Regions from separate parts of the Homo sapiens genome. Here all the other regions are linked to region 3. The links are contacts of gene promoters, found by promoter capture Hi-C in human tissues and cell types (Jung and others, 2019). All regions are on one chromosome and are shown on one strand. The core of a region is centred on a gene start or on the middle of the fragment in contact, and the rest is flanking DNA. Distances in the headings are between cores, read along the strand shown.

Evidence for each region. Contacts are between HindIII fragments. The study calls those that stand out against the background at their distance.
Region 1: a contact is called between a fragment that was not itself captured here and the fragment with the promoter of C17orf99 in region 3, in 2 of the 25 tissues and cell types used here (lymphoblastoid cells and spleen).
Region 2: a contact is called between a fragment that was not itself captured here and the fragment with the promoter of C17orf99 in region 3, in 1 of the 25 tissues and cell types used here (dorsolateral prefrontal cortex).
Region 4: a fragment that was not itself captured here is called in contact with the fragment with the promoter of C17orf99 in region 3 in 2 of the 25 tissues and cell types used here (bladder and thymus).

The regions. Positions count from the first base shown.
Region 1 is chr17:78,399,409-78,403,601 of GRCh38, forward strand. It overlaps PGS1 (phosphatidylglycerophosphate synthase 1), which reads left to right. Exons shown (of 10, transcript NM_024419.5): 5 at 1-129; 6 at 1,269-1,447; 7 at 4,160-4,193. It overlaps LOC124900399 (small nucleolar RNA SNORA30/SNORA37 family), which reads left to right and starts at 527; the gene lies at 527-655. RefSeq lists an enhancer at 1,120-1,625. The HindIII fragment of the contact is 6,850 bases long and covers 1-4,193 here.
Region 2 is chr17:78,310,557-78,314,640 of GRCh38, forward strand. No RefSeq gene overlaps it. Among named protein-coding and RNA genes, the nearest start is that of LINC01993, 34 kb to the left of the region's middle. RefSeq lists a silencer at 3,442-3,911. The HindIII fragment of the contact is 4,231 bases long and covers 69-4,084 here.
Region 3 is chr17:78,144,883-78,148,610 of GRCh38, forward strand. It overlaps C17orf99 (chromosome 17 open reading frame 99), which reads left to right and starts at 1,503. Exons shown (of 5, transcript NM_001163075.2): 1 at 1,503-1,562; 2 at 1,997-2,029. The coding sequence starts at 1,526. RefSeq lists an enhancer at 2,526-2,745. The HindIII fragment of the contact is 10,351 bases long and covers 1-3,728 here.
Region 4 is chr17:78,295,267-78,298,923 of GRCh38, forward strand. No RefSeq gene overlaps it. Among named protein-coding and RNA genes, the nearest start is that of LINC01993, 19 kb to the left of the region's middle. The HindIII fragment of the contact is 9,751 bases long and covers 1-3,657 here.

The DNA.
Region 1 (4,193 bases), core at 658-3,157, 250 kb after region 3:
AGTCTCCCTCTTTCACACGCCGCACCTCCGTGGGCTGCTTCGGCTCCTCATCCCTGAGCGCTTCAACGAGACCATCGGCCTCCAGCACATTAAGGTGTACCTCTTCGACAACAGCGTCATCTTGAGCGGGTGAGTGCTTCCCACCGTCAGTGCTTTTGCCCTCCTGCTCTGCAGGCTGGAGGGCAGTGGAATAGGAACAGTGGGAAACCCGTTCCCCTCAGTCTTGGAGAACCTGCTTGTAGGTCTGGCTGCTGTGCACCCGCGGCACCTCCCCGACACTGTCTCTGCCACTGAGGCTAGAATTCCCCGGGGGCTGACTGGAAGCCACTGTTGACAGGGCACTTAGTCTGTGCTGGCCACTCAGGTATGTTGTCTGTTTCCACCCTCAGTGACCCTCTGTAGTATTTTCCTCACTGTGTACATGTGGAAACAGATCAGAGAGGATGAGTCACTTTGTCAGGTAGACAGAGCCAGAAAAATAAACAAGAGTCAGACCTGGAAGTCCAGGTCCTTAGGCTGATAAATATGGGCCCTTTCACAGGCCCTCCCCTCGGCAGTGGGGCCAGGATTGGGTTGCTGGTGCTGAGAGAAAGCCCTTGATTGCATCCTTGCTCTGGGACTGTACCAGTGGCAGCTGTCACTTAGTGGGACAGAGAGAACAAACAAACATGGGCGCTGATAAATAGCCCTGCATGGGCCGGGCGCAGTGGCTCACGCCTGTAATCCCACATTTTGGGAGGCTGAGGCAGAGGGATCACCTGACGTTAGAAGTTCAAGACCAGCCTGGACAACATGGTGAAGCCCCGTCTCTACTAAAAATACAAAAATTAGCTGGGTGTGGTGGCACACACCTGTAATCCCAGCTACTCGGGAGGCTGAGGCAGGAGGATCACTTGAACCTGGGAGGCGGAGGCTGCAGGGAGCCAAGATCATGCCACTGCACTCCAGCCTGGGCGACAGAATGAGATTGTCTCAAAAAAAAAAAAAGCCCTGTGTGGTTAGTTGACTTTCTGTGTCTGCATCTCCTCTTCTCAGCTACACTGTCGGCTCCTTGAGAGGAGGAGGCTGTGGGTCACTTTGCTGTGTCACCTTGGATCAACTCTGGCTTTGTCTTTTGCACGTGTTCATTGCTGAGTAGCTATTTGTTAACTGCATCTTGACCTGAGTTTGTCACCCCCCTGCTAGTTCACCTGAGACCTGGGTCACCAGGACACGCTGCTGCATACCCTTGCCTGAGTCCTCCTCACCTGCATCTTCCCTCCCTGTAGTGCAAACCTGAGTGACTCCTACTTCACCAACCGCCAGGACCGCTACGTGTTCCTGCAGGACTGTGCGGAGATTGCCGACTTCTTCACGGAGCTGGTGGACGCGGTGGGGGATGTGTCCCTGCAGCTGCAGGGGGACGACACGGTGCAGGTGGTGGATGGGATGGTGCATCCTTACAAAGGTAGGGGCTGCCGCTGACACCCTTCTATGGCTGTGGGTGGGGTGGAGTGAGGGCCCGGGAGAGCACAACTCTAGGTGGTTCTGCCACAGGCATAGGGGACTTGGGTGGCAAGGCTTCATTCTGCTTTTGTCCTTGAAGCCAGACAGATGTGACTCACTGACCATCAGTCATGCTCTGTGGGTGAGAGAGCCAGCCCAGAAAGGTGGGAGCTTGGGCTTGGGACTCCTACTCCTTGAGGCGGAGTCACTCAGGTTTGCACTACAGGGAGGGAAGACGCAGGTGAGGAGGACTCAGGCAAGGGTATGCAGCAGCGTGTCCTAGTGACCCAGGTCTCAGGTGAACTAGCAGGGGGGTGACAAACTCAGGTCAGGACGCAGTTAACAAATAGCTACTCAGCAATGAACACGTGTGCCTGGGCGAGTGACCCAGAAGCCTGCCCTGCATCACAGGAAGCAACCAGGCCAGCAGCTGTTCGCCTAGGGCCCATTTCCCCAAGCCTATCACCTGGGCCTGTGGCTCCCAGCTCCCTTGAGCTCTGTGGCCCCCTGCCTGGAAAATGAAGTGGAAGAGCTCTCAGCTCTGCCCACTGGAACCAGGCAGGTTCTGGCGTGAGTGTTCTGGGGCATTTGCATTCCTGTGATTCCTGCGGCTGTGGCTCCCCCATGGCCTTTAGAGAGCTGCTGCTGGATTTGCAGCAGTGTCTGAACTTGGGGAGGAGGAGCTGAAGTTGGAACTTGTTGGGAGAAGAGCTCTCTGCGTCTTGTGGACCTAGAATGGAAGCATTTCAGTGGGCCGTCTGGTGGAAGCCCTGTCCTTGTGTCAGGGGAGCCCTGGGCCTCAGACCCCGACCGTGATGGTGTGATGCTCTGCCTGCCGCCATGCACTGTTCCTACTGTTGTATTTTGAATTTCATCTGTAAAGAGCTTGTGGAGCTCTGTATCTCTCTTGCTGAGTGCCTACCTAGCATCCTCAGCTTTGCCTTTTGGCCCAGAAAGCCTAAAATATTTACCATCTGACCCTTAAAGAAAATGTGTGTGGATCCCTGGTCTAATGTAACGGGCCAGGCATGGATATGAGAGAAAACAGGCCATGCTTAGGCCAGGATGAGAGCCAGCACGCTCCGAGCAGGAGCGGGGAGACTCGAGCCCAGCTGTGCTTGGGAGAATGAGTCCACAGAGAGGCTCAGGGTGTGCGCAGGGCCCCCCGGTGCTCCTCCCTCCGGCAGCCCTGTCCAGCATGTGGCAGTGTGACTCCTTTCTCCCCTGGAGGGTGTTGGCATCAACAGGCTAGACTCCTGCATGGGATGGTCCTTCTCTTTGTTCTGTAGCCCAGCCCTGAAAGGCACTGAGTGTCTGTTCCTGCCCCCAGCTCAGACCATGCAAGCCAGCAAGGATGACCTGGGACAGCCCTCCTTCCCTGTTTCACTTCCCTGATCAGCCTTGCCAAAGCCTTGTTGTTTTATCAATCGTTTATCAGACAATCAACTTTGGACAGTTGATATTCTCCATTTTTGTATCATTTTCATTCTAGTAATTTCTATTCATATATATATATATATATATATATATATATACACACACACACACACATATGTATGTATATATTTTTGAGATGGAGTTTTTGCTCTCGTCACCCAGGCTGGAGTGTGGTGGCACGATCTCAGCTCACTGCAACCTCTGCCTCCGAGGTTCAAGTGATTCTCCAGCCTCAGCTGCCCGAGTAGCTGGGGTTACAGGCACACAACACCACACCTGGCTAATGTTTGTACTCTTGGTAGAGACAGGGTTTCACCATGTTGGTCAGGCTGGTCTCAAACTCCTGGCCTCAGGTGATCTGCCCGCTCCTGCCTCCGTAAGTGCTGTGCTGGGATTATAGGCGTGAGCCACTGTGCCCGGCCTGTTCTTATTTTTATTTTTTGCTTCCCTATACTGTATTCTTGGTTTTATTCTGTTGTTTCTTTCCCCTGTCTTCCTGAGTTGGATGCTTAACTCATTAATTTTCAGCTTTGTCTTGTCTGATAATAGCATCTTTCCCTTCAGTGTGTCTGCATGGTCACCTGTCACCAGTGTCTTGTCCGAATACAAAAGGCACCCCATGCAGAGCCTGAGCCTGCCCGTTCTTCCTCTCTCTCAGGCACTGTCACTGCTGTGGGAAGCTTTCCCACATGGTGATGTGCTTATCCAAGGTGATGGCTTGCCCTGTGACCCCATCTGTGGAATACGCATGCTCCTTTTTTGGTTATACTTGCATGTCTTTATTTGACTGAGCTTCCTTATTGAAGTAGAACATGCACCCCGAGCACCAGTCGCAGGTGTACAGCCATGAACCTGCTGCTAGTGGACCTGCTTCCTGGAGGCCCCCCGTATGTCCCCCCCAAGGAATTATCCCAAAGGTAACCACTATCCTGATTTCTCTCCCTGTCAGTTTGTCTTGCCTGGTTTTGAGCTTGTTTGTAATTGGAATGATACGTCGACATGCCTTTCACTTCTGCCTGAGTGTGGGCTACTGTGGACCAGGCCCTTGTCTTGGGCAAACTATATCCCCAGAGGAGCCTCGCTCTGGGCTTGGGGTCCTGGGCCCACTCAGCGAGTGTTCAGTGAACATCCAGTTGTAGCGTCTGCACTTGCCTATCACATGCCCTGTCCCCTGAGCTGGGCAGAGTCCAGACCCTCCATTTCTCTTCCCTTCACTCTTCTTTCACGTCTTCCCCAGGGGACCGGGCCGAGTACTGCAAGGCAGCCAATAA
Region 2 (4,084 bases), core at 934-3,433, 170 kb after region 3:
TGTATGTTTCCAGGCCGGACACAGTGGCTTACGCCTGTAATCCCAGCACTTTAGGAGGCCAGGGTGAGAGGCCGAGGTGGGCGGATCACCTGAGGTCAGCCTGGCCAACGTAGTGAAACCCCATCTCTACTAAAAAAAAAAAAAAAAATGCAAAAATTAGCTGGGCGTGGTGGTGGGCACCTGTCATCCCAGCTACTCGGGAGGCTGAGGTAGGAGAATTGCTTAAACCCAGAGACAGAGGTTGCAGTGAGCCGAGATCGTGCCACACTGCACTCCAGCCTGGGTGACACAAGACTCCATCTCAAAAAAAAAAAAAAAAAAGTACGTTTCCTAGCATATTTTATGGACATGAAAGCAAATGCTTGCATATACATATACACTTTCTTCTTTCTTTCTTTCTTTTTTTTTTTTTTTTTGAGATGGAGTCTCGCTCTGTCGCCCAGGCTAGAGTGCAGTGGTACAATCTCGGCTCACTGCAACTTCCACCTTCTGGGTTCAAGTGATTCTCCTGCCTCAGCCTCCTGAGTGAGTAGGTAGGATTATAGGTGCATACCACCACACCTGGCTAATTTTTATATTTTTTTAGTAGAGATGGGGTTTCACTATGTTGGCCAGGCTGGTCTCAAGCTACTGACCTCAGGTGATCCGCCCACCTCAGCCTCCCAAAGTGCGGGGATTACAGGCATAAGCCACCACGCCCCGCCAAACTTTCTTCTTTCTACCCCCATACAAATCATAGCATGCCATACACACTCTTCCGCACCTTGATTTTTATCCCTTAATATGTATTAGACTGTCAGACTGTCCTCTATCAGCCTTGAAAGGGCTCTCGCTCTCTCCCTTCCAGTGTTCCTTTGGACAGATGCGCCAGCACCTATGTGCCCCATTGCTGCATTTTGCACTGTGTACCTGTCAGGGTTCTGTGCAAGGCGAATCCACCTCAGGTGGTTCAAGCCAAAAGGGATTTTAACATAAGGAATCAGGAATTCATAAAATCATTGGAAAAGATTCATGGGCTTGAGAAAAACAATCACTGGGAGAGATGGAAGGTCAAAGCTTTCTGGGGTAAGGCCACGCCTCCACCACAGTCCCCGATCCTCCCCACTCCCACACCCACAAATCAGGCACTGAGATGGCAGAATGGGAAATGGAGCCACTGCCAACCAGTGCTTCTGCTGGAACCCACTTTCATACCCATGCAGCTGCAGAAAGACAAGAGTCTGTCTTCCTTCCACTTTCCAATCCCACAAGAACGCATTGATTTGCAGAGAGAAAGTCACATCTAGAGAGAACCTGGGAAAGAGTTTCTAGCTTTCCCACTGCTGTGGTCTGAATGTAACCCCCATCATAACTCCATGCAATAGTGTTAAGAGGTGGGTTCTTTGGGAGGTGATTAGGTCAGGAGAGCTTCTCCCTCGTGAATGGGATTAAGACCTTTATAAAAGAGGCTTTGAAGGCTGGACGTGGTGGCTCACGCCTATAATCCCAGCACTTTGGGAGGCTAAGGCTGGCAGATCACCTGAGGTCAGGAGTTCAAGACCAGCCTGGTCAACATGGCGAGACCCGTCTCTATTAAAAATACAAAAAGTTAGCTGGGTGTGGTGGCCCAGGCCTGCAATCTCAGCTACTCGGAAGGCTGAGGCAGGAGAATCACTTGAACCTGAGAGGCAGAGGTTGCAGTGAGCTGAGATGGCGCCACTGCGCTCCAGCCTGGGTGACACAGGGCGAGGCTCTGTCGAAAGAAAGAAAGAGAGAGAGAGAGAGAGAAAGAAAGAAAGAAAGAAAGAAAGGCTTTGTAGAGTGTTCAATTCAGCTCATTTTTTGCCCTTCCATCCCTTCTGCCCTGTAAGGATGCAGTGTTCATTCTCTCCGGAGGGTGCAGCACCAAGTCACCATCTTGGAAGCAGAGAGCAGCCCTCACCAATACCAAACCTGCCAGCACCATGATCTTGGACTTCTCAGCCTCCAGAACTGTGAGAAATACATTTCTGTTCTTTGAAAATTACCCAGTCTAGGTATTTTGCTAAAGCAGCATGAATGGACCAAGACACCAACCATCTAAAAAAAAGATTAAAGGAGCTGATTCCACCAGCCAGCATCTTGCTGATCTTCCACACCATGGCATAAAAAGCAGCAAGAGCTTTCACCTAATGCTATACAACTGTGCCCCAAACACACACACACACACACACACACACACACACCCTCTCCCCAGAATGAAAAACCTGATGTTCTGATCAGTCACTCTCCAGCTGTGGGTGGTGCTCACTCCTCTTCTGGGCAGAAATCCCATGAGATTAATTAAAGTCACCCATCCCCAGGGCCCCCAGAGGCATAAGTATCATTTGCAATATAGATTTTTCCAATAGTGCCCTCTTGGAATTGTGCAGTGTGCAGCCTGGACAACATTATGTGGTGACCCTGGGTCCTATACTTTATGTAGAATAGTAAGGAAAAAAAAAGAGGGAAAAAAGGAAATTAGTTAACATAAACAAAAATGAACAGGATAAAGGGGAAAGGTGTATGGTGGTCCCTCACTCTGCCATAGTTTCTACTGATAACTTCCTCCTTCCACCATCTAGCCATAATCCCTCCCCCTTGGCCAGCACCTCATATGGTCGTGGTTCTACCTGGGGTAACCCCATCTGTATATAATACAGCCGTCCCGCTGCAGGCCAGGTCGTGAACCAAGCTTGCAATAGGAGATACCCGTGACACAGCCCCTGCCCTTGAGAGGAGTCTCAGGCAGTAACAAACACAGGCCACTGGCTGGGCATGGTGGCTCATGCCTGTAATCCCAGCACTTTGGGAGGCCAAGGCGGGCGGATCATTTGAGGTCAGGAGTTCGAGACCAGCCTGGCCAACATGGTGAACCCTCATCTCTACAAAAAATACAAAAATTAGCTAGGTGTGTTGGCGCGCGCCTGTAGTCCCAGCTACTTGGGAGGCTGAGGTGGAAGAATCACTTGAACCCGGGAGGTGGAGGTTGCAGTGAGCCGAGATGGCACCACTGCACTCCAACCTGGGTGACATAGCAAGACTCTGCCAAAAAAAAAAAAAAAAAAAAAAAAAGCTGGGGGAAGGGTGAGCGTAGAAAATAGTTGTAGTTAAGAGACGGGGTTGGCTGGTTCAGCTTCCAAAGTCTAGGATTTGGTATCTGATAGTAAGAGCAGTGGCCAATGCGGGGGTCTCCAGGCAGGGCCCTAAGCACCGCGCCAGGTTAATGCTCCTCGCAGCTCTTGGGCAGGACTGACTGTTGGAGGCTTGTCCAGCAGAGACAGGAATGAGGGGACCGAGGACCCAGGCATGATGGGGCGGGGGCGCGGGGACCTGCAGCCCAGCGGGCTCGGACGACCTCGGACCCCCGCCGCTCCACGGGCAGGAAGGGAGCCCGGAGCGGCGCGGGTGCGCATTGATCGTGGTGCGGATGCAGCCGCTGCGGCGCGGCCCCGGCTTCTCTGCGAGCCCGTGCCCGGGCCGGGCTGTCGGGAACTCGGCCCGGCTCCACTTGCTCGCGCTTACTGGAAACGTGCTCCCGAGCGGCGCAAGGCTCGGCGGCTGGAGCCCGGGGCGGCCCTTGGCCGAGGGCAGGGCCGAGCCAGGTGCTCGGGCGCCCCAGGCTGCCGCGCCCTGCTGGGCCACCCTGGGCGCGTGCCACCCCCGGGGACCCGTCCCGTCCTGAGGGCGCCCAGGGCCTCCCAGCGCCGCTCTCCCCAGGGTGAGCGGGAGGAGGGAGGGAGCTGGGGGCAGCCCGGGGAAGCCGTGGGGCGGGCTTTCAGCAGCTGCGAGGCGAACCCGCCTCCCTTCCCGGTATTCTCGCGGCCACCCGGTGGAAGGTGGCGCCACGCCAGGGCCAGGCGGAGGCGGGGAGCCAAGCCCGCAGCCACGCCCTGCCCAGGGCGCAGGTGGGCTCGGCTGGAGGAGGTGCTGGGGGTGGGTGTGTCTCCTGACACAGGAAGAGCTGCCTCCTGGCTGCCCCAGTCACAGAAATGTTTATTGAGCACCTACTAGGCAAGGTGCGACCACTGCAGTGGGGGTGGGGGCACTTTTCTCCCCGGGCGTGTATATTTATTTATTTATAAAC
Region 3 (3,728 bases), core at 253-2,752:
GCCTGGGAAAGGCTGAGAGGAGAGCTGGGCCGGGGCTGTGAGTGGCCTCCCTTGGTCAGGTGTTCACTCCTGGACGGTGCCCAGGGGCAGAGAGTGTGATTGACCGGTCAGGAGCCACAGGTGGCAGCAGCTCCCACAGGAGGCAATGGTCACCTGGTGGCAGGGGACATATTCCTGAAGGAGGCAGCCAGAAAAGGCATTCCCCACACAAAGTGTGGGAAACTGAGCCGGGCCAGAAAGTGACAGGCTGGTCCAGCAGCCCCAGGCTGAGCTTGGGCACAAAGCCGGGTGCAGTGGCCCACAGCGGAGCTGGCAGGGCCCCAGCCTCAATCCCTTGCGCCCTTACATCTCTCTGTGTTCCGGGGAATGCCTGGCCCCAGCCCTGGCCTCGGGGCTCTGGGAGGCCCTGCTCACCCCCACCCTCCCTGCATGTGCAGGAGGCTCTGTGGCTGAACTCTGCACACACACTGCCTGCGATGCAGCTGGGTCTGCTGCTGGCCAAGGCCAGCACTGGGGCCAGTTCCCTGGGGAATGACCATCCATGTGACCTCCCACCACCCTCAGTGGGGCCTGAGGGACTTCTGAAGGGCGGTGCTTGGGCACACCACGCTCCGGGACCCAGGACTCCAGGACCCATCACACTCCAGGACCAGGGGCCTCGTCGGTCTGGGGTTTCATTCTGGGGCTGGGTGCAGCCTTGGCCTCCCGGCTGTGAACCATCATGGGTGGGGCTGCCTTTTCTCAGCCCAGCAGGTCCCCAGCTGCTTGGAAAGGCCCCAGTGATTACATGAGGGTCACCTGGGTCATGTAGGACGGGCTCCTCCTCTCAAAATGAGAAGACTCACAGCCTTCATTCCCCTTGCCGCGTAGCATGGTGCTCACGGGCTCCAGAAGTTACAGCGTGGACATCTTTTTTTTTTTTTTTTTTTTTGAGATGGAATCTCACTCTGTTGCCCAGGCTGGAGTGCAGTAGCGTGATCTTGGCTCACTGCAACCTCCGCCTCCTGGGTTCAAGCAATTCTCCTGCCTCAGTCTCCCGAGTAGCTGGGATTACAGGCGCACGCCACCACGCCCGGCTGATTTTTAGTAGAGATGGAGTTTCGCCATGTTGGCCAGGCTGGTCTCGAACTCCTGACCTCAGGTGATCCGCCCATCCAGGCCTCCCAAAGTGCTGGGATTACAGGTGTGAGCCACTGTGCCCCGCGGAGCATGGACACCTTCTGCCCACCACGTGAGCCCGGGATCCTGCGGCTCAGAGGTGACTGCTGAGTCTAAGCCCTGGTCTGGCTTCAAGGTCCAAACTCCTTCCACTTCTCTGGGGATTGAGGGGGAGTTTGCTGTACCGGGCCTGCCGGGGCTCTCTGGGCCCCGCCCTGGTAGCTGAGGCCCTGGGGTGCTGCGGCCTCCAGGTTATCTCCCCACTGCAGGCACCCACCCAGGGAGCATCCCAGGGGCCTCAGGGTGGGGGAGGCCAGGAACTAGGAGGTTCTCACTGCCCGAGCAGAGGCCCTACACCCACCGAGGCATGGGGCTCCCTGGGCTGTTCTGCTTGGCCGTGCTGGGTGAGTCCACCAGGGACGTGATGGTGGGGCTGCTGCTGGGGCCTTGAGGTCTTGGGCTCAGGTGGGGGTACTGGGAGCACAGGAGAGATGAGGCCTGAAGGAAGGGCACCTCTGGAAACATGGACAGAGAGGGAAAGATCTGGGCTTGAGTCTCGGACCAGCCCCTAAACTTGCTGTATATGTGGTCCAGGGATTTCTGCACCATTCTGGGCTCACTACTTACCCATCTGCGAAATGGGCGGATGAGAGGCGATGTTGTGGGGGGAGGGGCGCAAAAGAGCTTTTGTGAGTGATGGTGCCAGCTGAGTCCTGGGGCCTCACTACCAAGAATCAGCCTGCTCCTCCCTCCTGGCTTCAGCAGGTGGGTCTCGAGGCTGTCTCTGGTCTCCCCTCCACACCAGGCCCTCTCCTTATCGCCCTTACCTCTCTTACAGCTGCCAGCAGCTTCTCCAAGGCACGGGAGGAAGGTAAGTGGCATAGCCTGCTGCAGGGAGAAGTCCCCCAGCTGGGACCCTGGTGTCAGAACCCCCATGGTGGAGGGCGCCTCGGCTGGGAAGGGAGTTACTAGTGGGGAGGTGTGTGCTGGAGGATGGCTGGACAGTTCTGGAACACTCTCTTCACCCTGCAGGGCCCTAGGAGTGATGGAGATGGGCAGGCCAAGCAGGCCAGTGTGGGGACCTCCGGGGCACACAGGCAGGGAAGTTGCTCAGCTTCCAGCCTTTGGCTGGGCTGTTTGGAGGGAAGATTCCCTGGGCAGGTGCATCCTCATCACTCTGCCCCAGGTCCCTGATCGGGAGCAGAAGCCCCCCCTGAGACCCTCACAGCTCTGCCCGGTGGGCGAGGCCCCGTGGAGGGCTGGGGAATTCTGGTGGGGCCTGGGAGGTTGGGATTCTCTGACCAGGAGGAGGGCCGTGAGAGGATGGTGAAGTTAAGGCTCCCCCAGGGGCCTGACATACACGAGGCTGCCTTCCTTATAGAGGCAGGTGGGGAGTGGAGAGTGTCTGGGACCCAGCTGGGTACAGGACCAGGGAGGAGGGGACGCTGGGGAAGGTCCCTGACAGCCCCTAGCCTGGCCTGCTTCCTCATCTTTGCCTGCTCCATCTTTCTGCCTGCACTTTCTTGCCCCATCCTTCCCTCCCCTCCCCTCATGTCCATTAAGGTGAGGATGGACAGTCACCTCCCTATATTGTCCCAACTAACCCTTGCCCCTTGTTGCTAGGCCATCAGGTTACAGAGCAGGGCCTTCCCCCTCTATTTTGCTAAAGGGCAGGTACAGGGTAATGATGACGCCATTCTCACTTGAATGAGGCCCAGGTTGAACCATTATTTCCTCATTTGCTTTAAAAACGGATACATTGTTGGTGTGGCTGCTAAAAAGAGAGCAGGCAGCTGGGGCTCCGGGAAGTACCTGTGCAGGGCAGTTCCGCCTCCCCCTCTTGGCTGGCTCCCGACTTCTCTGATTCTTGCCAACCAAGTCCTGCTAACTAAACTCCTAAGAGACTGACTGATAAATCATTTATTCATTCAACAAATACTTGAGCACCTGTTTGGTTGCAGGCACAATTCCAGGCCCTGAGAATGTGGCAAGGCACTGAAACAAACCCCTCCTGTATCTTACATTCTAGTGGGGGTTGGGGGGACAGATGATAATAAAAATAAGAACATTCAGTGGCTTATGCCTGTTATCCCGCACTTTGGGAGGCTGTAGCCAAAGGATCAGTTGAGCCCAGGAGTTCAAGACCAGCCTGACCGACACAGTGAGACCCCCATCTCTTAAAAAAAAAAAAAGAAAATGGCTCGATCTCAGCTTACTGCAACCTCTGCCTCCTGGGGTCAAGGGATTCTTCCACCCAGCCTCCTGAGTAGCTGAGATTACAGATATGCACCACCATGCCCAGCTGATTTTTTTGTATAAAGAAAATATTTTTTTAAATTAGCTGGGCATGGTGGGCGGTGCACCTGTTGTCCCAGCTACTCGGGAGGCTGAGGTGGGAGGATTGCTTGTCCGGGAAGTGAGGCTGCAGTGAACCGTAATCATTAACAGTGCACTTCAGCCTGGGTGGCAGAGCAAAAAAAGCACATTCTAAGGTATGTTAGTTAGAATGTTCTAGAGAAAAGCAAGCAGGGTAGAAGGAAAGGGAACACCAGGTAGGTAGGGGAAGGAGG
Region 4 (3,657 bases), core at 138-2,637, 150 kb after region 3:
TGGCTAACACAGTGTAAACCCCGTCTCAACCAAAAATACAAAAAATTAGCCGGCGTGGTGGTGGGCACCTGTAGTCCCAGCTACTCGGGAGGCTGAGGCAAGAGAATGGCGTGAACCCAGGAGGCGGAGGTTGCAGTGAGCCGAGATCACGCCACTGCACTCCAGCCTGGGCAACATAGCAAGACTCCGTCTCAAAAAAAAAGAAAAAAAGGTCAGTGTGGTTAAATGCATAAGAAGTAATCAGTGTGTTAAATGTATGAGTTAATTGAGCATAGCCCAAGTGAAAGTGATTGTGTTTTCATATTAAAATTAGATTTATAAAGAGAATGCTAAAACTTGTTGGATTTTGGAATGCAAGGTCTAAGTAAAGGTAGGTTTTAATATTGACAACTTTTACACTTGATATATTGACTCTTTTTTTTTTTGAGACTAGACTCTGTTGCCCAGGCTGGAGTGCAGTGCTGTAATCATGGCTCACTGCAGCCTCAACCTCCCAGGCTCAAGCAATCCTCCTACCTCAGTCTCTCAAAGTGCTTAGACTACAGGTGCATGCCACCATGCCCGACTAATTTTTTAAAAAAAATTTTTAGCGAGATGACTTAGTGAGAGGTCTCACTAAATTGTCCAGGCTAATCTCAAACTCCTGGGCTCAAGCAATCCTCCCACCTCAGCCTCCCAAGTAGCTGGGACTACAGGCACGCACCACCACACCCAGATAATTTTCAATTCTTTTTTTTGTCGATAGGGTCTTACTATTTTGTCCAGGCTGGTCTCAAACTCCTGGGCTCCAGCAATCCTCCCACCTCGGCCTCCCAAAGTGCTGGGATTACAGGTATGAGCCACCGTGGCCAGCCTTGACTCAATTCAAATTCAAGTCACTAAGTCTTCCTTGGAAAGCACAAAACCTCCCCCAGGCATTAAAATATTCAAGTGACACAGAAAAGGGAGAGGTGAAGAGGAGCTACCACCTGGAGGAGAAGGTGGGCTCTGAGCCGGGCCTGGAGCCAGGCAGGGAGGTCTTCTTAGCACCCAGCAAGCTGCACCACCCAAGCACTGCCCTCTGCCACCCCACCTCTGCTGGCATGGAAACCTCCCTCTGGGGGTCCCTCTGGCTTCTTGGGTGGAGCCTCTTTTTTTGAGACAGTCTCACTCTGTTGCCCAGGCTGGAGTGCAGGGGCACAATCTCGCCTCACCGCAACCTCTGCCTCCCGACTTCAAGCGATTCTCCTGCCTCAGTCTCTTCGCATAGCTGAGATTACAGGCACCTGCCACCACGTCTGGCTAATTTTTGGGTTTCACCATGTTGTCCAGGCAGGTCTCGAACTCTTGATCTCAAGCAATCCACCTGCCTCGGCCTCCCAAAGTGCTGGGATTACAGGCGTGAGCCACCACGCCTGGCCTTGAGTCGAGTCTTGATGTCTCAATCACACTGCCCCAAATCCATACACTTGTTTATTCATTCAGCAAACAATAAAGCACCTGGACACTCCAGGTTCCATGCCAGGAGCTGGAGTTCACAGGAGAGCACAGGCCTCGGCCCTGGGGCTGAGTCTTGCCGCCTTCTTCATGGCTTGTGACTGCTGTGGTCTGAATGCTGGTGTCCCGCAGATTCATGTGTTGGAACTTAATGCCTAATGGGATAGTACTAAGAGGTAGGGCCTTAGGGGGCTGGTTAAGTCATGAGGGCTTCACCCTCACAAATGGGATTCATGCCCTTATAAAAGAGGCTTGAGGGAGCATGTTTCCCCTTCCGCCACATGAGGACACAGCAAGAAGGTGCCGTTTGTAAGGAATGGGTCCTCGCCAGACACCAGATCGGCCAGTGCTTTGATGGTGGACTTCGCAGCCTCCAGCACTGTGAGCAATGAATTTCTGTCGTTAGAAAATTACCCAGTCTAAAGTATTTTGTCAGTCCGGGCGCGCTGCCTCACGCCTGTAATCCTAGCACTTTGGGAGGCCAAGGCGGGTGGATCACCAGGTCAAGAGATTGAGACCATTCTGGCCAACATGGTGAAACCCCGTCTCTACTAAAAATATAAAAATTAGCTGGGCCTGGTGGCACACGCATGTAATCCTAGCTACTCAGGAGGCTGAGGCAGGAGCATCGCTTGCACCTGGGAGGCAGAAGTTGCAGTAAGCCGAGATCACGCCATTGCACTCCAGCCCGGGAGACAAGAGTGAAACACCATCTCTAAATAAATAAATAAGAAAGTATTTTGTCATAGCAGCCTGAGCAGACTAAGCCCCTGGCCCTCACTCAGCCTCTCCTCAGCCTGCCACTCCTGATGGGGACCTACTCTGGCTCTGTCCTCCCCACCCAAACACAGCACCCCCACAAGCAGTGGGGAGAGGTCCCCAGTGGAGCAGGAGTCCTCCTGGACTTTGTACCTGGGGCCACCCCAGCAGTTACCGCTTTAAAAAGACCACAACAAATGCTAAGCTTTGGTGTTCTTTATAGAATTCTTTTTAAAAAACAAAAAAATGATCATCATGTTTTGTTTGTTTTCCATTTAGAAGAGAAACACTTTCTCATTATTTTAAAAATAGAAACATTACAGAATAGGTACTGTGGAAAGTGAAACTGTCCTTTCCCCCGCCAAGCCTCTGTCCCTCTCTTCTTTCTTCCTGGGGGCTCAGCCTGCCAGGGCCACTGAGCTCTACCATACAGGTTATAGCTACCTGTCACTTCTTTTTTTTTTTTTTTTTTTTGGCCCAGGCTGGAGTGCAGTGGCACGATCTCGGCTCACTGCAACCTCCGCCTCCCGGGTTCACGCCATTCTCCTGCCTCAGCCTCCCAAGTAGCTGGGACTACAGGCGCCCGCCACCACGCCTGGCTAATTTTTTGTATTTTTAGGAGAGATGGGGTTTCACTGTGTTAGCCAGGATGGTCTCGATCTCCTGACCTCGTGATCAGCCCGCCTTGGCCTCCCAAAGTGCTGGGATTACAGGCGTGAGCCACCGCGCCCGGCCCTTAATTTTCTTTTTAATGCTTCTCCGTATTTTCTAGCTTTCTACAAAGATTAAGTAATCCATAAATAATTTAAATAAAGTATCATTTAAAAGTCTATTCTTTTTGGCCGGGCGCTATGGCTCACGCCTGTAATCCCAACACTTTAGGAGGCCTAGGCAGGCGAATCACCTGAGCCCAGGAGTTCAAGACCAGTCTGGGCAACATGGTGAAACCCAGTCTCTACTAAAAATATAAAAATTAGTCAGGCTTGATGGTGCATGCCTGTAGTCCCAGCTACTCGGGAGACTGACGCAGGAGAATCGTTAGAACCCAGGAGGTGGAGGTTGAAGTGAGCTGAGACTGTGCCACTGCACTCCAGCCTGGGTGACAAAGCAAGACCTTGTCTCAAAGAAAGAAAAGAAAAAAAAAAAGTCTATTCTCTTTGATTCAATATTTACTCTTCTGGGAAAGCACCCCAAAGAAATAATTCTAAATCAAGAAAAAGGCCTGGTGTGGTGGCTCTCGCCTATAATCCCATCACTTTGGGAGGCCGAGGTGGACGGATCACCTGAGGTCAGGAGTTTGAGACCAGCCTGGCCAACATGGTGAAACCCCATCTCTACTAAAAATACAAAAATTAGCTGGGCTTGGTGCATGGTGGTGGTGCCTGTAATCCCAGCTACTCAGGAGGCTGATGCAGGAGAATC